5 separate regions of the Homo sapiens genome follow, and regions 2, 3, 4 and 5 are each linked to region 1. Evidence: promoter capture Hi-C in 16 types of primary human blood cells and fetal thymus (Javierre and others, 2016). All regions are on one chromosome and are shown on one strand. The core of a region is centred on a gene start or on the middle of the fragment in contact, and the rest is flanking DNA. Distances in the headings are between cores, read along the strand shown. Region 1 holds the start of UST-AS2 (UST antisense RNA 2). Region 2 has its middle 19 kb from the start of TAB2-AS1. Region 3 has its middle 19 kb from the start of TAB2-AS1. Region 4 has its middle 43 kb from the start of TAB2-AS1. Region 5 has its middle 68 kb from the start of TAB2-AS1.

Evidence for each region. Contacts are between HindIII fragments. The CHiCAGO score rates a contact against its expected background, and 5 or more counts as called.
Region 2: a fragment that was not itself captured here is called in contact with the fragment with the promoter of UST-AS2 in region 1 in 7 of 17 cell types (M1 macrophages, M2 macrophages, non-activated CD4 T cells and 4 more); the score reaches 7.5 in M1 macrophages.
Region 3: a fragment that was not itself captured here is called in contact with the fragment with the promoter of UST-AS2 in region 1 in 6 of 17 cell types (non-activated CD4 T cells, M1 macrophages, activated CD4 T cells and 3 more); the score reaches 7.3 in non-activated CD4 T cells.
Region 4: a fragment that was not itself captured here is called in contact with the fragment with the promoter of UST-AS2 in region 1 in 2 of 17 cell types (megakaryocytes and M1 macrophages); the score reaches 5.4 in megakaryocytes.
Region 5: a contact is called between a fragment that was not itself captured here and the fragment with the promoter of UST-AS2 in region 1, in 3 of 17 cell types (naive B cells, M2 macrophages and total B cells). The highest score is 6.2, in naive B cells.

What each region holds. Positions count from the first base shown.
Region 1 is chr6:149,031,312-149,034,088 of GRCh38, reverse strand. UST-AS2 (UST antisense RNA 2) reads left to right here and starts at 1,428. Exons shown (of 2, transcript NR_134599.1): 1 at 1,428-1,564. The region is part of intron 7 of UST (uronyl 2-sulfotransferase); the gene reads right to left. RefSeq lists an enhancer at 835-1,024. The HindIII fragment of the contact is 1,599 bases long and covers 1,035-2,633 here.
Region 2 is chr6:149,274,859-149,277,635 of GRCh38, reverse strand. It overlaps a transcript of TAB2 not described here. Among named protein-coding and RNA genes, the nearest start is that of TAB2-AS1, 19 kb to the right of the region's middle. The HindIII fragment of the contact is 3,443 bases long and covers 1-2,777 here.
Region 3 is chr6:149,237,014-149,239,790 of GRCh38, reverse strand. It overlaps a transcript of TAB2 not described here. Among named protein-coding and RNA genes, the nearest start is that of TAB2-AS1, 19 kb to the left of the region's middle. The HindIII fragment of the contact is 905 bases long and covers 954-1,858 here.
Region 4 is chr6:149,213,068-149,215,844 of GRCh38, reverse strand. No RefSeq gene overlaps it. Among named protein-coding and RNA genes, the nearest start is that of TAB2-AS1, 43 kb to the left of the region's middle. RefSeq lists an enhancer at 2,634-2,753. The HindIII fragment of the contact is 7,328 bases long and covers 1-2,777 here.
Region 5 is chr6:149,188,624-149,191,400 of GRCh38, reverse strand. No RefSeq gene overlaps it. Among named protein-coding and RNA genes, the nearest start is that of TAB2-AS1, 68 kb to the left of the region's middle. The HindIII fragment of the contact is 1,996 bases long and covers 358-2,353 here.

The DNA.
Region 1 (2,777 bases), core at 179-2,678:
CTTAGGAAGATGGAGAGGAGCAAGGAAGTAGAAGTAAAGGTAATGGAATAAGAGAATGAGATCATGACCCCAGTAAATCAAGAAACAGCAGCCTGTGCATACTAGTTACAGATAGCGCGGTGATTATCCGAAGAAACATCTAGCTGCGCTGAAAGTGATTGGCTCTGCAACATCAGACTTCATCTTTGGGAGGGTTGGAATAGGAAACTGCTGGTTTTCATTATACATCTTATAGGACTATTTGATTTTTAATTATATACATGCATTACTTAATAGATATAGCAAAAAATGCAGGGAGGTAAAATCCTAGGAACACATGTTTTGAAAAACAGTTCTGGTAGAGTCTGGTTGACAATGCAGCAGAAGCATCTAGAAGCGTATGCTATGGTAAAGACGAGGGGCGGGGTGAGACCTTCAAGTCAAGTGAAACTACCCCACCTGACAAACAACCCTCTCTTCTTCTCATCAGTGTGGGATTATGTTGGATTTTTCTATGCGTTTGTAGGTAATGAAATGAACGTGCTTACTAGAACCCACAAGAAACCACACATAAAAATCCCCAGCAATGTTATATACACAGGTATATTTCTAGCTTTTTGCTGTATTCTTTCACAATTCTGTGCCATTTGCAAGATGTGAAAAGCTAGGACATTATGTATTGATAAAAATGTCTGAGACATGAAAAATATACAGACCAAGAAATATTTTTATTTGAAAAAGATTTAGCCAGACAAAAATAGAAGCTTCCATTATAAAATGTTGAGTCATGCAAAATGGGTAAGGATTGTACTTCGCCCCGGCAGGGGGTACATTTTATAAGCAAAGAATGTCAGAGAGCTAAGGCCACGAGCCAAGGGCCCAAAGACAGTTTTGAAATCCTTTGTCTAGTGCTCTTTCCACATCACCACATTAATTCCTGGGGTGGACAGGGACCTTGACAATTTAAGCATAAAAGAACAAACTGACCACAAGGTCGTTTTTATAAAGATCAACCATCAACCCCTGGGGTCAAGTTTCCAATCTTTGCTCAAGCTTTAGAAGCCTTTCAGCTTTGTGGCGTTATCAGGAAAGTCCAAAAATTGAAATTTGTGGTGACTAATTCCACCCCCTACAAATACTCAATGCAGAGCATATTACTGTCAGCTCAGCTAAAAACTGCTCAAAGTAGAAGTGATTAAATTCTAAAGTAGAAAAAAATTCACCTCCAAACACAGAAACACACTGGTACCTCCCCCGCACACCCAGATATTATTAGCCAGCTTTTTGCCTGGGGAAATGAATCATGAGACAGAAAACTGTACAACCCCCAAGTCTGACCACACTGAGTAACTGGGGTAGACACAGAGGGGGGCATCTGGGGCTCTCCCGAGGCCAAGGTTGGGACCCAGAAGAGATGAATTTCCCTGGGTGCACAGGGTGGGAGGGAGGTGGGGCTGGAAGAACTTGATCTGGAGGGATGATCCCGAAGGCTCCCAGTGAAGAAGGCCAGGAAGAGCAGAGGATGGTGCCAGGAGGATGATGTCGGGGGACACAGGCAGCTCATGCCTGGATCAGGCAGTGACTGGTAACAGAAGGAGAGTCCATGCTGGTGGGCCCAGGGGAACATAGGTGGTCAAGCAGGGCAGTACTTGGTGTCTGGGGATGCAGTGTGCGACCTCCTGTATTCGGTGCGAGGCACATGGGGCCAGCAGGAGCTGGTGTGAGCCCGGGTCTGAAGGGTGGTGGGATCTTAGTGGGGAAGACTGGGAAGACAGCAGGGAGGAAGAACTCAGGCTGGAGGAGGATGGGGGCCTGGGAGGATCCCTGCCACACTGTTAGGAAGCCAGGGAGCTTGGGTGGTGGTAGGATGGGAAGAGGGCAGGGAAACGGGGGGAGGGTGACACAGGCCCTCCGGCAGCAGCGGCTTGGCCACTGGCGCTGAGATTGGTATGAGTGACTCAGTGCCAGGTTGCGCCACAGAAAGCTGAGGCTGCGGATCCTTCTCCTGCCTCTGGTAGGGCCGTCTTAAAGGCAGGGTGAGTGAGCCTGGCTCCAAGAGGCTGGGTCCGCAGGCAGGGGCTGACGTGGGCTGGCCCAAGCCCCAGCTCTCCTCACTCTGAGTGCTTCTATGCTTTCTCACCTCCACGCTTCCAATCATGTTATTTTCCTCTTATTAAAATGCCTCCTTCCACGTCCACTTGGCAAACTCCTACGCACCCTTTAAGGCCGGGCACAAATGTCTCCACAGGGTTATGCGCCCCAGCCCTGTTAGTGACGGCCTTCCAGCTAGACAAGATTTTCATCTTTATACTGCCCTTCCCCAGGAAAGGGACATCACAGACACTCAGCTATTTATTTGCTGGAGGTGTTTGTTGAATTTTTCTGGTAGTTTCAGATTACACCTATTTAAATATTAGTTTTCAGAGAAGAGAAATATTTTTGTAAAGTTATTCCTAGAACATCAATGTCTGTGAAGGAAGTTCTATTTTCCTGTTAATCTTTCATAATAAAATTGGAAATGCTTTCTCCTGGAGGAGAGATGATCCCAACGCAAGAACAAATCAGTAAGCAAGAGTAAAACATGTTTTCCAATAAAACAAAGAGTAATAGTTGAAATAGGCCAAACGCACATATATTATGCTGCAATTTAAGCTTTCATAAAGTAAATTAAACAAGCCTAGAGGCTGAATTCTTGTGAATTGGTGATGTTTCTGTAAACTGAATGATGTTATCAGCCTGTGGTTATACAGTTCCCCTCAGAAAAATGTTCACTAAAAAAAATCACAAGTGTTTAGAAG
Region 2 (2,777 bases), core at 110-2,609, 240 kb before region 1:
TAATATCAAAAGGTATAAAAAAGTATTCAGTGAAAGTAGACTCTTGTCTTTCATTTGCCCAGTTCCTACCCCTCACCCCATCTCTCATCCCCAATTGGTAATCACTGGTGTTAATATTTGGTTTGTCTTTCCAAGCACTTTAACATATATTTATGAACCAATTTCTATCTCCCTTTTATATTAATGATATGTCTACTACTCTGCATCTTGCTTTTTATCTTAACAGTATATTTTAAAGATTTTCTGTATCAATCTATAAAGAGCTTATTTGTTCTTTTTTTAAAAAAAATAGCCACATGGTATTTCATTGTAGGAATGCATCTTATTTTATTTAATCAGACTTTTCATTTATAGACATTTTCAATCTTTTGCTATTACACACAAAACTGCAATGAATAAACTTATACTAATGTTATTTGCATGTGTATTAGTCTGTTTTCATGCTGCTGATAAAGACATACCCAAGATTGGGTAATTTATAAAGTAAAGAGGTTTAATTTACTCACAGTCCCACATGGCTGGGGAGGCCTGACAATCACGGTAGAAGGCAAGGAGGATCAAAGTCACATCTTACATGGATGGTGACAATCAAGAGAGAATGAGAGCCAAGTGAAAGGGGCAACCCTTTATAAAATAATCAGATCTTGTGAGACATATTCACTATGAAGAGAACAGTATGGGGGAAACCACCCCCATGATTCAATTATCTCCAACTGGGTCCCTCCCACAACACGTGGGAATTATGGGAGCTACAAATCAAGATGATATTTGGGTGGGGACACAGCCAAACCATATCAGCATATATGTGAGTATCTCTGTAGGATAAATTCCTAGAAATGGAATTGTTGAATAAAAGATATAATCATTTATAATTTTGATTTTGCCAGATCGCCTCCATTGGGGTTTTACCAATTTATGTTCTCACAACAATGTATGAAGGTGCCTATTTTTCCACAGCTATGCCAATATCACTTTTGGGTTTTTATGAATGTGATAAAAATACTATTCCACTTTATATAATTCCTCTTATGAGTGAGGTTGGACAGCTTTTCAAGTGTTTAAAAGCTGAAGGTAGGATTTTTAAAAATATATAATTGATTTATTGACCCCTAAGAAATTTGGAGTTTATAGGGAAGTTACAGAAGGAAATTTTCAAATCATTTAAACATTTTTAGCCATCAAATTCTTGTTAAAGTAAATAGATGTTTCTTAGAATCACTGAGTACAATGTCTCATCGCTAGCACATTAATATCTCCTGGATAACATTTTGGGCTTCCAATAGAATACAAACCAATATATAGAGGTATAAACCAATTAACATATTAATACTCTTTCCAGACATTATTACCACTAAGCTATATCTGCCTTTGTGATAAATTGTCCAATTTTTAGTCCATTATATTCATTTCTTTGAGGCTTAAAATAAACCCAAGAGCCTTCTATATTTTAAATAAAGTTTATTTTTTGAATAGTTTCAAATTTACAGAAAAGTTGTGAAGATAGTAGAGTTCTCATATACCCACACCCAGTTTTCCCTATTATTAACCTCTTACGCTGGTGTGGCGTATTTGTTACTATATGAACAAATATTAATACATTATTATTAACTAAAGTCCATACTTTATTCATTTCTTCAGTTATGCCTAATGTCCTCTTTCTGTTTCAGGATCCTACCCAGGATACCACATTACATTTAGTCATCATATCTTCATAATCTCCTCTAGGCTAGCAGTTTCTCAGATAACCTTGACAGTTTTGAGGAGTACCGATCAGGTTATTTTGGAAACGTCCCACTGTTGGAATTTGTTTGATGCTTTTCTCCTGATTAGGCTGGAGTTATGGGTTTTGGGAAAAAGACCACATAGTCAACGTGAGAGTCTCATCACATCACATCAAGAGCACATACCATCAACATGACTTATCACTGTTGATGCTGAGTTTGAACACCCAGATGAGGTAGTGTTTGCAGGTTTCTCTACTGAAAAGTTACTTTTTCTCCTCCCTTCTGTAGTATAGTGTTGAAAAAACTCCCTCTGCACAGCTCACAGTTAGTGAGTGAGAAGTTATGCTCTACCTTCTTGGGGAAGAATCTACATAAATTATTTGGAATTATTCTGCATGATAAATTTGTCTCTTCTTCTCCATAAATTTATTTATTCAATAAGGTATATACATCAGTATGGTCTCAAGGATATTGAGTTATCATTCAACTACTTTATTTATTTTGTTGCTCAAGTTGTTCCTGCCTTGACCATTGGAGCTTCTTTCGTTGGCGAGTGCCTGTGTCCCTTTGAAATACCCCATCCCTCATAATTGTGCTCTTTTCTTTTTTCTCTTTCTTTCTTTCTTTCTTTCTTTCTTTCTTTCTTTCTTTCTTTCTTTCTTTCTTTCTTTCTTTCTCTCTCTCTCCCCCCTCCCCCGCCCAAGGGAGTTCAAGGCTCAGTGAGCACCACTGCACTCTAGTCTGGGCAATAGAGCAAGACTCCAACTCAAAAAAAAAAAAAAAAAACAGAAGAAGAGAAAAAAAATTAGGGAAATGAATGGGATATTGTTACAATATCAGTCCACACCTCCAGTTCTTTGTTTTCTTCATCTAACTCTAAGCCCTTGTCCTGCAGTGGGGTGGAGAGAGAAGCCAGACATTCTGTTTCTAACATACTTGGAGCCCTATGCTCAGGGCTACACCAGGGTCCAGGGGTCTTGTGGAGCCCCAAGGCACTGGAGCTGGTTCTCTCTCTGGCCTGGTTACTGCAGAGATGCCTATAGTCGTAGCCCA
Region 3 (2,777 bases), core at 157-2,656, 210 kb before region 1:
GCTCAGTGTCTGGCACATATAGGTGCTCAAGAAGTATTTGTTGAGTGAGAACTCACACTTCACAGTTCTGAGCCTTGGGGAAGTAACCAAGTGCCAAGTTCAGGAGATAATTCACCCCTTGTTAACACTATTGAAAAATAACAAGAGAACAAAATAAAGTGTGTAGAAGCAGCTCGAATAAAATACAGTTGGGTTTTTCTTGCCAGTACCTAAGCTCACTAAACTGAAGTGAAATATCCCAACACCATGTCAAAACATTTACATATGCTTTTCTTGTGGAAAGCCTGGGATTATGGCAAAGCCTCAGCCACAGTGCTTAGAGCACCTTTGATCACCGTGAATTCTAGACTTGTCCATGACCTCGTTTTGACAGTGATGTTGTGGCTGGAGTAGAGGTCTGCCCATCAAATGGCTTAGCCTCTGCTTCCTGGCTCTGTTCCTGACTCAGGTGACCTCACCACATAATCTCAGTAAGCTCTGGTCATGGCAACTCCAGGCCAGGTTTAAAGTCACGGTGACCAAGAGGCTAGGCCCAGTGTTAGCTTGGGCTTGTCTATCAAGCGATCATATGACAATTGTGTTGATAACAGCCAGACATGCCAGCCTCATTGGAAGCACAAATGCTCTGCCTGTGTGGTATCTGCAGTGATCCCTTTCTAAGAGTCACTTGAGTTTTAGATGGAGAATACATTCATAGCTGGATATCAGTTGGTGAGGCACTGGCATTCCACAGTCAGTTGAGTTAATCCCTTGTAGAGGTCCCAGAGATATTTCCACTGCCGCTGTCTTCTCTTCTAAACTGGTCATCAGAATATGATAAATGTGAGTTTTACTGCTAAGATTAGACATTCCCTCAGCCCTAGATCTGTCAAGTGGGATGGTTTTGAACATGAACATTGGCGAAGGCTCTGTCGTCTAAGATGTGACAGTCTCCATGAGTAAGTCAAGAAGCTTCCTTTGAATGGGACATCCGGCTGTGCTCACATAGCCTACAGAAGGTAGCAAAGGCAAGTCTGTGTTTTAAAAGAGAAAGAGAATATGCCCCGAGCAGCCTCAGACAGCTTCCGGGATGTGCAGGCTTTGCTCTTCAGGTCTCACAGTGATTCACAGTGAGAATCACTTTGATCAGACATGGTTGGTGTGGCAACTGTTAAGTATCGTGGTGGACATGGTCATCCTTGGAGGAGCCGGGGAGCCATGATCTTGTGCCATTCTGGGAGGCCAGGGCCCAGGGCAATGGGTGTTTGTCTGGCCAATGTCCTTGTTCAGCACTGAGCCACTGGGCCAGAACATGTAGGGTGAGTCTTAATTGCAGGAAGTTTGAATATAGTAGGTTTGCTGTGCCTTGTGGAGATGTACCCCGATTTGGAACCCCAGAGAAGCTCAAGCCAGGAAGCAAGCCCACCCTGTGTCTCCTCTCCCAGGTAAAGAAAAGGGAGAAAAGGGGTACAGAAAGGTAGAGAAGAAGAGGAGCCAGATGCCCTCTAGAGCAAGAGAAAAGAAACCCAGACTTTTGAAGATGCCAGGGGGTCTTGGAAATGCCAGTGATTCCATGTGGAGTTTCCTGGTTCTTAGTTACATTTTTGTTATTTCACTGGACACGCAGACTGGGCCAGGCACCGTGCTGGGTGTTGGGAACTCCAAAGTGATGGGAGACAGGTCCCTACCCATGGTGAAAAGATCTCTCCCCAGGAAAAGCTCACGAATTAGTGAAGGTGGGAGCCAGGCAAACATAAGTAGGTGCTAGTAGAAGGTAGGCTAAATACCACGGAGAGGAAGAGGAAAAAGGAACAAAGTGCTATGGGAACGCTGAGTGTGGGGTGCACACACTGTGGGGCTGGGGAGCAGGTAGAAAGCTTCACGGAGAAACAAATCTTAGAGCCAAGTTTTGAAGAAAAAGTGGATGTTTTTCAAACAAATTGATTTGGAGTGGGGTGGCGTGGTGCTTGGGGCAGAAGGACCAGCAGAAGCCTGCTGGGAACAGGCATCATTGCTCATCCCTGAGCCCACTATGCTCGGCAGATGGCCAGCACCCACAGTGGGAGGGGACTGGCTGTCAAAAGTGATGCCGTTAGGTGTGGGGCACCCTGGGGTGTTCCAGGAGAGGTGAGTTCTAGGAAGTAGTAGCTGCCAGCCACTGAGGTGAGGCCGCCTAGAGGACGGATGAGGGGTTTGTTGTTAAAGCATGGGTCTTAGGAAGCCATTGAAGGTTTTATAAACAGGAGAAAGGCAGGACTGACTGCCTCTCCACTTACGCATGGAAAGAGGCCTGGATTTGGCACCTTGGTAGCTCCATTGTATCATCATGGGGGTGCATAGTAGATGGTGCACCTGTGTGCAATGCCTCTCAGGGTGAGGAGGCCAGAGCTGGAGAAGAGGAAACCAGCATCAGGGACCACATTGCATCTTCAGGGACTTGCTCCTTAACAGATGTGAAAGTCCTTCAGGAGCCTCCAGAAACACAATGCAAGAAGACTTTGCAAGAGGTGGGATTGTACATTAGCAAGTAGGGATGAGTAAAATAGAGGAAGAAAAAAATGAACTTCTGTATAGATTTAGTTTCAAAGAAACAAAAGGAAGCTCATGTATTATCCATGGTTTTTGTCTCATTCTGCTCACTTAGCATTATTTCAAGAGCACCTTTGTACACCCTTATACATATTATTTCTTGCCAAATTCCAAGGAATTCTTTATGCTCAGATATAACACTTCACAGTGCCTAACACGATCCACGGAGGGGATCGCCATGCAAATAAATTAAACAATTTTACTTAGGC
Region 4 (2,777 bases), core at 77-2,576, 180 kb before region 1:
ATTATTATGTGCCTATTTTAAAGATGGAAAAGTAGACTCAGAGAACTTAAATAATCTGTCCAAGACCTGACGACTCACAGCTGGCATGTGATATTGCTTGACCTTGAACCCCATCTTCTGAAATCAGTTTCAGAGCCCCTCTCACTATTGTTCAGCCGTGGGTGCCCACAGAATGCACAAAAAGGAAGTAAACACTGGTGGATGTCAAGGACTTGGGCGGAAATCATCCTACCCAAATTCCAGAGCTACTGGTTCAAATAAAATTTAAAAACAACAACAGTCCCTGAAGAGAAGTAACCTGTGCAGGAAAACCGAGGGGCCTCTCAGTGGGTGCAGATCAGGCCTGGACATGTAGGGGCTCAGTACACCCTTCTTTAGTAATGGAGACCTGTGGCTGGGGACGGTGGCTCACACCTGTAATCCCAGCACTTTGGGAGGCTAAGGCGGGTGGATTGCTTGAGCTCAGGAGTTCGAGACCAGCCTGGGCAACATGGTGAAACCCCATCTCGGCCAAAAATACAAAAATTAGCCAGATGTGGTGGCATGTGCCTGTGGTCCCAGCTACCTGTGAGGCTAATGAGGAAGGAACGCTGGAGCCTGGGAAGTTGAGGCTGCAGTGAGCTGTGATCATGTAACTGCACTCCACCTGGGTGACAGAGCCAGACCCAGTCTCAAAAATAAATATATAAATAAATATATTTTTTAAGAAAAACAGTGAAGGCCTGTGTTCCTGATGGAACAGTGAACCTAACCAAGAAACAGTTGTTAATTTATTCATTCACCCATTCAACTGACATGTATTGAGAGTCACACTGTTCAGATGCAGGACACAAGAAGGCTGATGTCCAGTGACTACTTTGCAGTCAGGCCAGCTGAGGGTTTACAGATGGGCATCCCTTCTGATGGGTTGGAGTCTATGCCAGACCTGTTGTTAAATAATTTGGATACCACCACTAGATATAGTAATAAACAAGTTCCTGCCCTTGGGGCCTTATACTTTCATGAGGGGAGAGAGCTGATTTAAAGTCAGGCAGTGGTAAGAGCCATAATACCAATAGGACAGGGTGATGTGATGAAGGTGCATTAGGCATGGTAATCCTGAAAGGCTTTTCTGAAGAGGTGATATTTAAGCTGGCATCTAACATCAGGAGGGAGCCGGCCTCTGCAAGAAGGGCATCTCATGGAGAGGGAACAGCCACTGCGAGGGTCTGAGGTGGGAATAAGGCTGGTGTGTTTGAGACAGAAGGAAGTTCAGTGTGACTGGAGCACAGAGGGTGCGGGAAAGACAGGGGTACACAGGAGGAGTGGGGAGGGTGTGGCTGATTCACACAGGGCTCTGAAAGTGTTTGAAATTTCCTCTAAGTTTCAAGGAAACCATCGGAGGGTCTTAAACAAGGAGTGACATGATAGGATTTATGTTCCTAGATGATCACGTGGGTTGCAGTGTGGAGAATGGATTCTAAGGGGGCAAGACTGGATGCAGGGAGACTTGCTGGGAAGTTTTATAGTCATCTGGAGACTGTGACATGGACTGTGGAGACAGCCATGGTGATGGAGTGAAGTGGATTGCTTTGGGCTATATATTGGGTATGGAGTTGACAGCTGATTTGGACATATTGGAAAGGGAGAGGAATTGTGTTTGCCTCCGAGTTTTCGGGCCTGAGCAGTGAAGATGGAGAAGAGCAGGAAAGAGCAGGTTTTTCTGTGTCAGATAAGTTAAGTTTGAGATGCCTGTTAGATGAGTAAGTCAATGTGCTTTTATGTGCAAGACTTGTGGTATAAAAAGTAAACTACATAGATAACATGAAGAATCTCAGTCACATGATTGTAAAGGATTTCTTAAGGCTATTGCTGTGTAAGTGTGATAACATGTCAACACTCAGGGAAACTCTAAGGTGGTTATTAATTTTGGAGGCTATGATGTGCGCAGGAGAGTAGTAGAAGAGATACAGGAGAAGCTGGTGAGAGCCAGCTCATGAGAAGCCTCGTAAGGAGATGATGGGGGAACTACTGAAAAGATTTGAATGAAGAATGATGTGACCACATTGAGTGTTTTAAAAATCATTGTGAATGCAATATGCAGGAAAGATTGGAGGGACGTGAGGCTGGAGTCAGAGTGAACAAGGAAGATTTATTGCCATTGGTCCAGGTGATGGATGACAAAAGCTGGAACTCAGCTGATGACCACACAGAGGAAGCAGAGTGAGCAGATGCAAAAGATTTTCAAAAGACAGATGTGACTGTATTCGGGGATCTTTTGGCTGTGAGTGTGACAGTTTTCAGCGTGGGCGCCTGGGTAGATGCTGGGGCAATCAAATGAGATCCAGAGCATAGGTCCATGAGGACAGGGGTGGATCTTATTCTATTCTGTTTTTCTGGTGCCAACCCTTGTGCCCGTTTTCACTCTGAGGAGCTGATTGGCTTTAGCCTTTCCACTAAGTTCTTCCTCATTCAAGAAAGCCTTGTTCAATGAATTAGCCGAGAGCTAAATGGGATACCTGGGGCAACAGCAACATTTAAGAAGGCATTAAAGAGACTTGGTAGGTGTTAGGGGAACCAGAAACCTGGAGAACCAGGAACCAGCAGAATGGAAAGTGAAGAAATGGTCAACAGCCGTACTGAATGCCAAGGGAAGGTCAAATGAGACAGGGATTTACAAGTGTTCTTCAGGTTAAGGCAGCAGCAGTGTTAACCAGAGCAGCTTCAGTGGTGCAGCGAAGGTGGAAGCCAGGCAGTGGTGGGTGGAGGAATGAACAGGACAGGAAGTGGAAAATACT
Region 5 (2,777 bases), core at 106-2,605, 160 kb before region 1:
TTTTTCATATCTGCTATTTCTTTTATCATTATCTTTATGTTTTATTTTATATCTTTGAACATGTTAATAAGATTTTAAAATCTTAATCTTTCAATATTAAATCTTTTAAGGTCCTTCTACCCATTCTATTATCTCTGGCATTTCTGAGTCTGTAATTGATTCTTCTCCTGGTTATAGGTAATCTCTTCTCGTTTCTTTACATGCTTTGTGATTTTTGATTGAATCTTAGCCATTGTCAATTTTACGTTGTTGAGTGCTCATTTTACTGTATTTCTTTAATGAATACCGACTTTTTTCCTTTTTAGCAGTTAAGTTACTTGGGATCAGTTTTATCTTTTTAAGACTTTCTTTTAAGCTTGTTATGGTGGGCCCACCACATCCTTTAGTTAGGGCTAATTTAGCCCCTCTACTCTGGCATCATGATTTTTGCCAATACATTGTTATTGGTTTTGCCTTGAAGACTTTAAAAATGTTTTATTCTTTAAAAAATATTTTTTATAAATAAATATATTTTCTTAAATATTAAAATTGAGGAAAAATGATCTTTTAAAAAAAAGTTTTCTCACCGGCTGCCTGGATATAAAGTTGGTGCTGTTGGGGGAGCACAGGGGGATTGAGACTGGCCTTTTTGGCTGCATAGGGGCTGGGTGAGGCCTGTCACTGCCAACTTTCCACCACTTCCCTGGCAACCTGTATGATGCAGCAGAGGCAGCCATAATCCCCCAGGAAACATAACTCTGTCAGCTGGAGAAAAACACCCTCATCCCCTATAGCAGCCACAGCAAGCCTTGCCCAAGGAGAGTCTGAGCTCAGACATGCCTAACACTGCCCCCACCTGATGGTCTTTCTCTACCTGCCCTGGTAGCCAAAGACAAAAGACATTATCTCTTTGAAGCTCTGTGGCTTCACCCATCACCTGGCCAACCTAGGGCAGGCTTGTATCCTCCCTGTACTACCACAGCTGATGCTGTCTTGAAAGCGCCACCTCCTGGCTGGAGGCCAATCAACACAAACCATTACAGCAACTCATAAAAGAACAGCCTTGTCCCAAGAAAGGAGAAAACAGCTAACTCTACTGCCTGTAACATCCTGGATAACCAGAGGTCCTGAGTCTGTCTACATGACAACTTTACTGCCAGGACAACCAGCATTAGAGAAAACCAGCACACTAAACAAAACTACAACAAAGTTCCCACAAAAAGTCCACCTCACTCCTCTGCTACCTCCACTGGAGCAGGTGCTGGTATCCACCTGAAGATGGATCACATCACAGGACTCTTTGCAGACACTCCCCAGTACCAGCCCAGAGCCTGGTAGCTCCACGGGGTGGCTAGAATCAGAAGAGAAATAACAATCACTGCACTCTGGCTCTTAGGAAGCCCCATCCCTAGAGGAAGGGGAGTGTGCCACATCAAGGGAATACCTGTGGGGCAAAAGAAAATGAACAGCAGCCCTTGAGCCCCAGATCTTTTCTCTGACACAGTGTACCCATATGAGAAGGAACCAGAAGAACAATTTTGGTAATATGACAAAACAAAGTTCTATTATGCCCCCAAAAGATCACACTAGCTCACCAGCAACGAATCCAAACCAAGAAGAAATATCTGAATTGCCAGCAAAAGAATTCAGAAGGTCAATTATTAAGTTACTCAAGGAGGCACCAGAGAAAGGTGAATACCAACTTAAAGAAATTTAAAAAATGTTACAGGATATGGATGGAAAAATCTCCAGAGAAGTACATAGCATAAATAAAAAGTAGTCACAACTTCTGGAAATGAAGGACACTCTTAGAGAAATGCAAAATACGTGGAAAAACCTCAACAATAGAATTGAACAAATAGAAGAAAGAACTTCAGAGCTCAAAGACAAGGCTTTCAAATTAACCCAATCTGACAAAGACAAATAAAACAGAATCAAAATAATGAACAAAGCCTCCAAGAAGTTTGGGATTCTGTTAAACAACCAAACCTAAGAATAATTGATGTTCCCAAGGAAGAAGATAAACGCAAAAGTCTGGAAAACATATTTGAGGGAATAATCGAGGAAAACTTCCCTGGCCTTGCTAGAGATTTAGACATCCAAATATAAGAAGCTCAAAGAACACCCAAGATATTCATCACAAAAAGCTCTTTGCCTAGGCACATAGTCATCAAGTTACCTAAAGTCAAGAAGGAAAGAATCTTAAGAGTTGTGAGGCAAAAGCATCAGGTAACCTATAAAGGAAAATGTATCAGATTAACAACAGGTTTCTCAGCAGAGACCCTATAAGCTAGATGGGATTGGGGTCTTATCTTTAGCCTCCTTAAACGAAACAATTATCAGCCCAGAATTTTGTATCCAGCGAAACTAAGCTTCACAAACAAAGGAAAGATATAGTCTATTTCAGACAAACAAATGCTGAGAGAATTTGCCACTACCAAGCCAACACTATAAGAACTGATGAAAGGAGCTCTAAATCTTGAAACAAAACCTCAAAATACACCAAAATAGAACCTTCTTAGAGCATAAATCTCACAGGACCTATAAAACAATAACAATGAAGAAAAAAAACCCACAGGGTATTCAGGCAACAATTAGCATGATGAATAGAATAGTACCTCACATCTCAATACTAATGCTGAATATAAATGGCCTAAATGCTCCACTTAAAAGATACAGAATGGCAGAATGGATAACAATTCACCAACCAAATGTCTGCTGCCTTCAAGAGACTCATCTAACATAAGGACTCACATAAACTTAAGGTAAAAGGGTGGAGAAAGATATTCCATACAAAT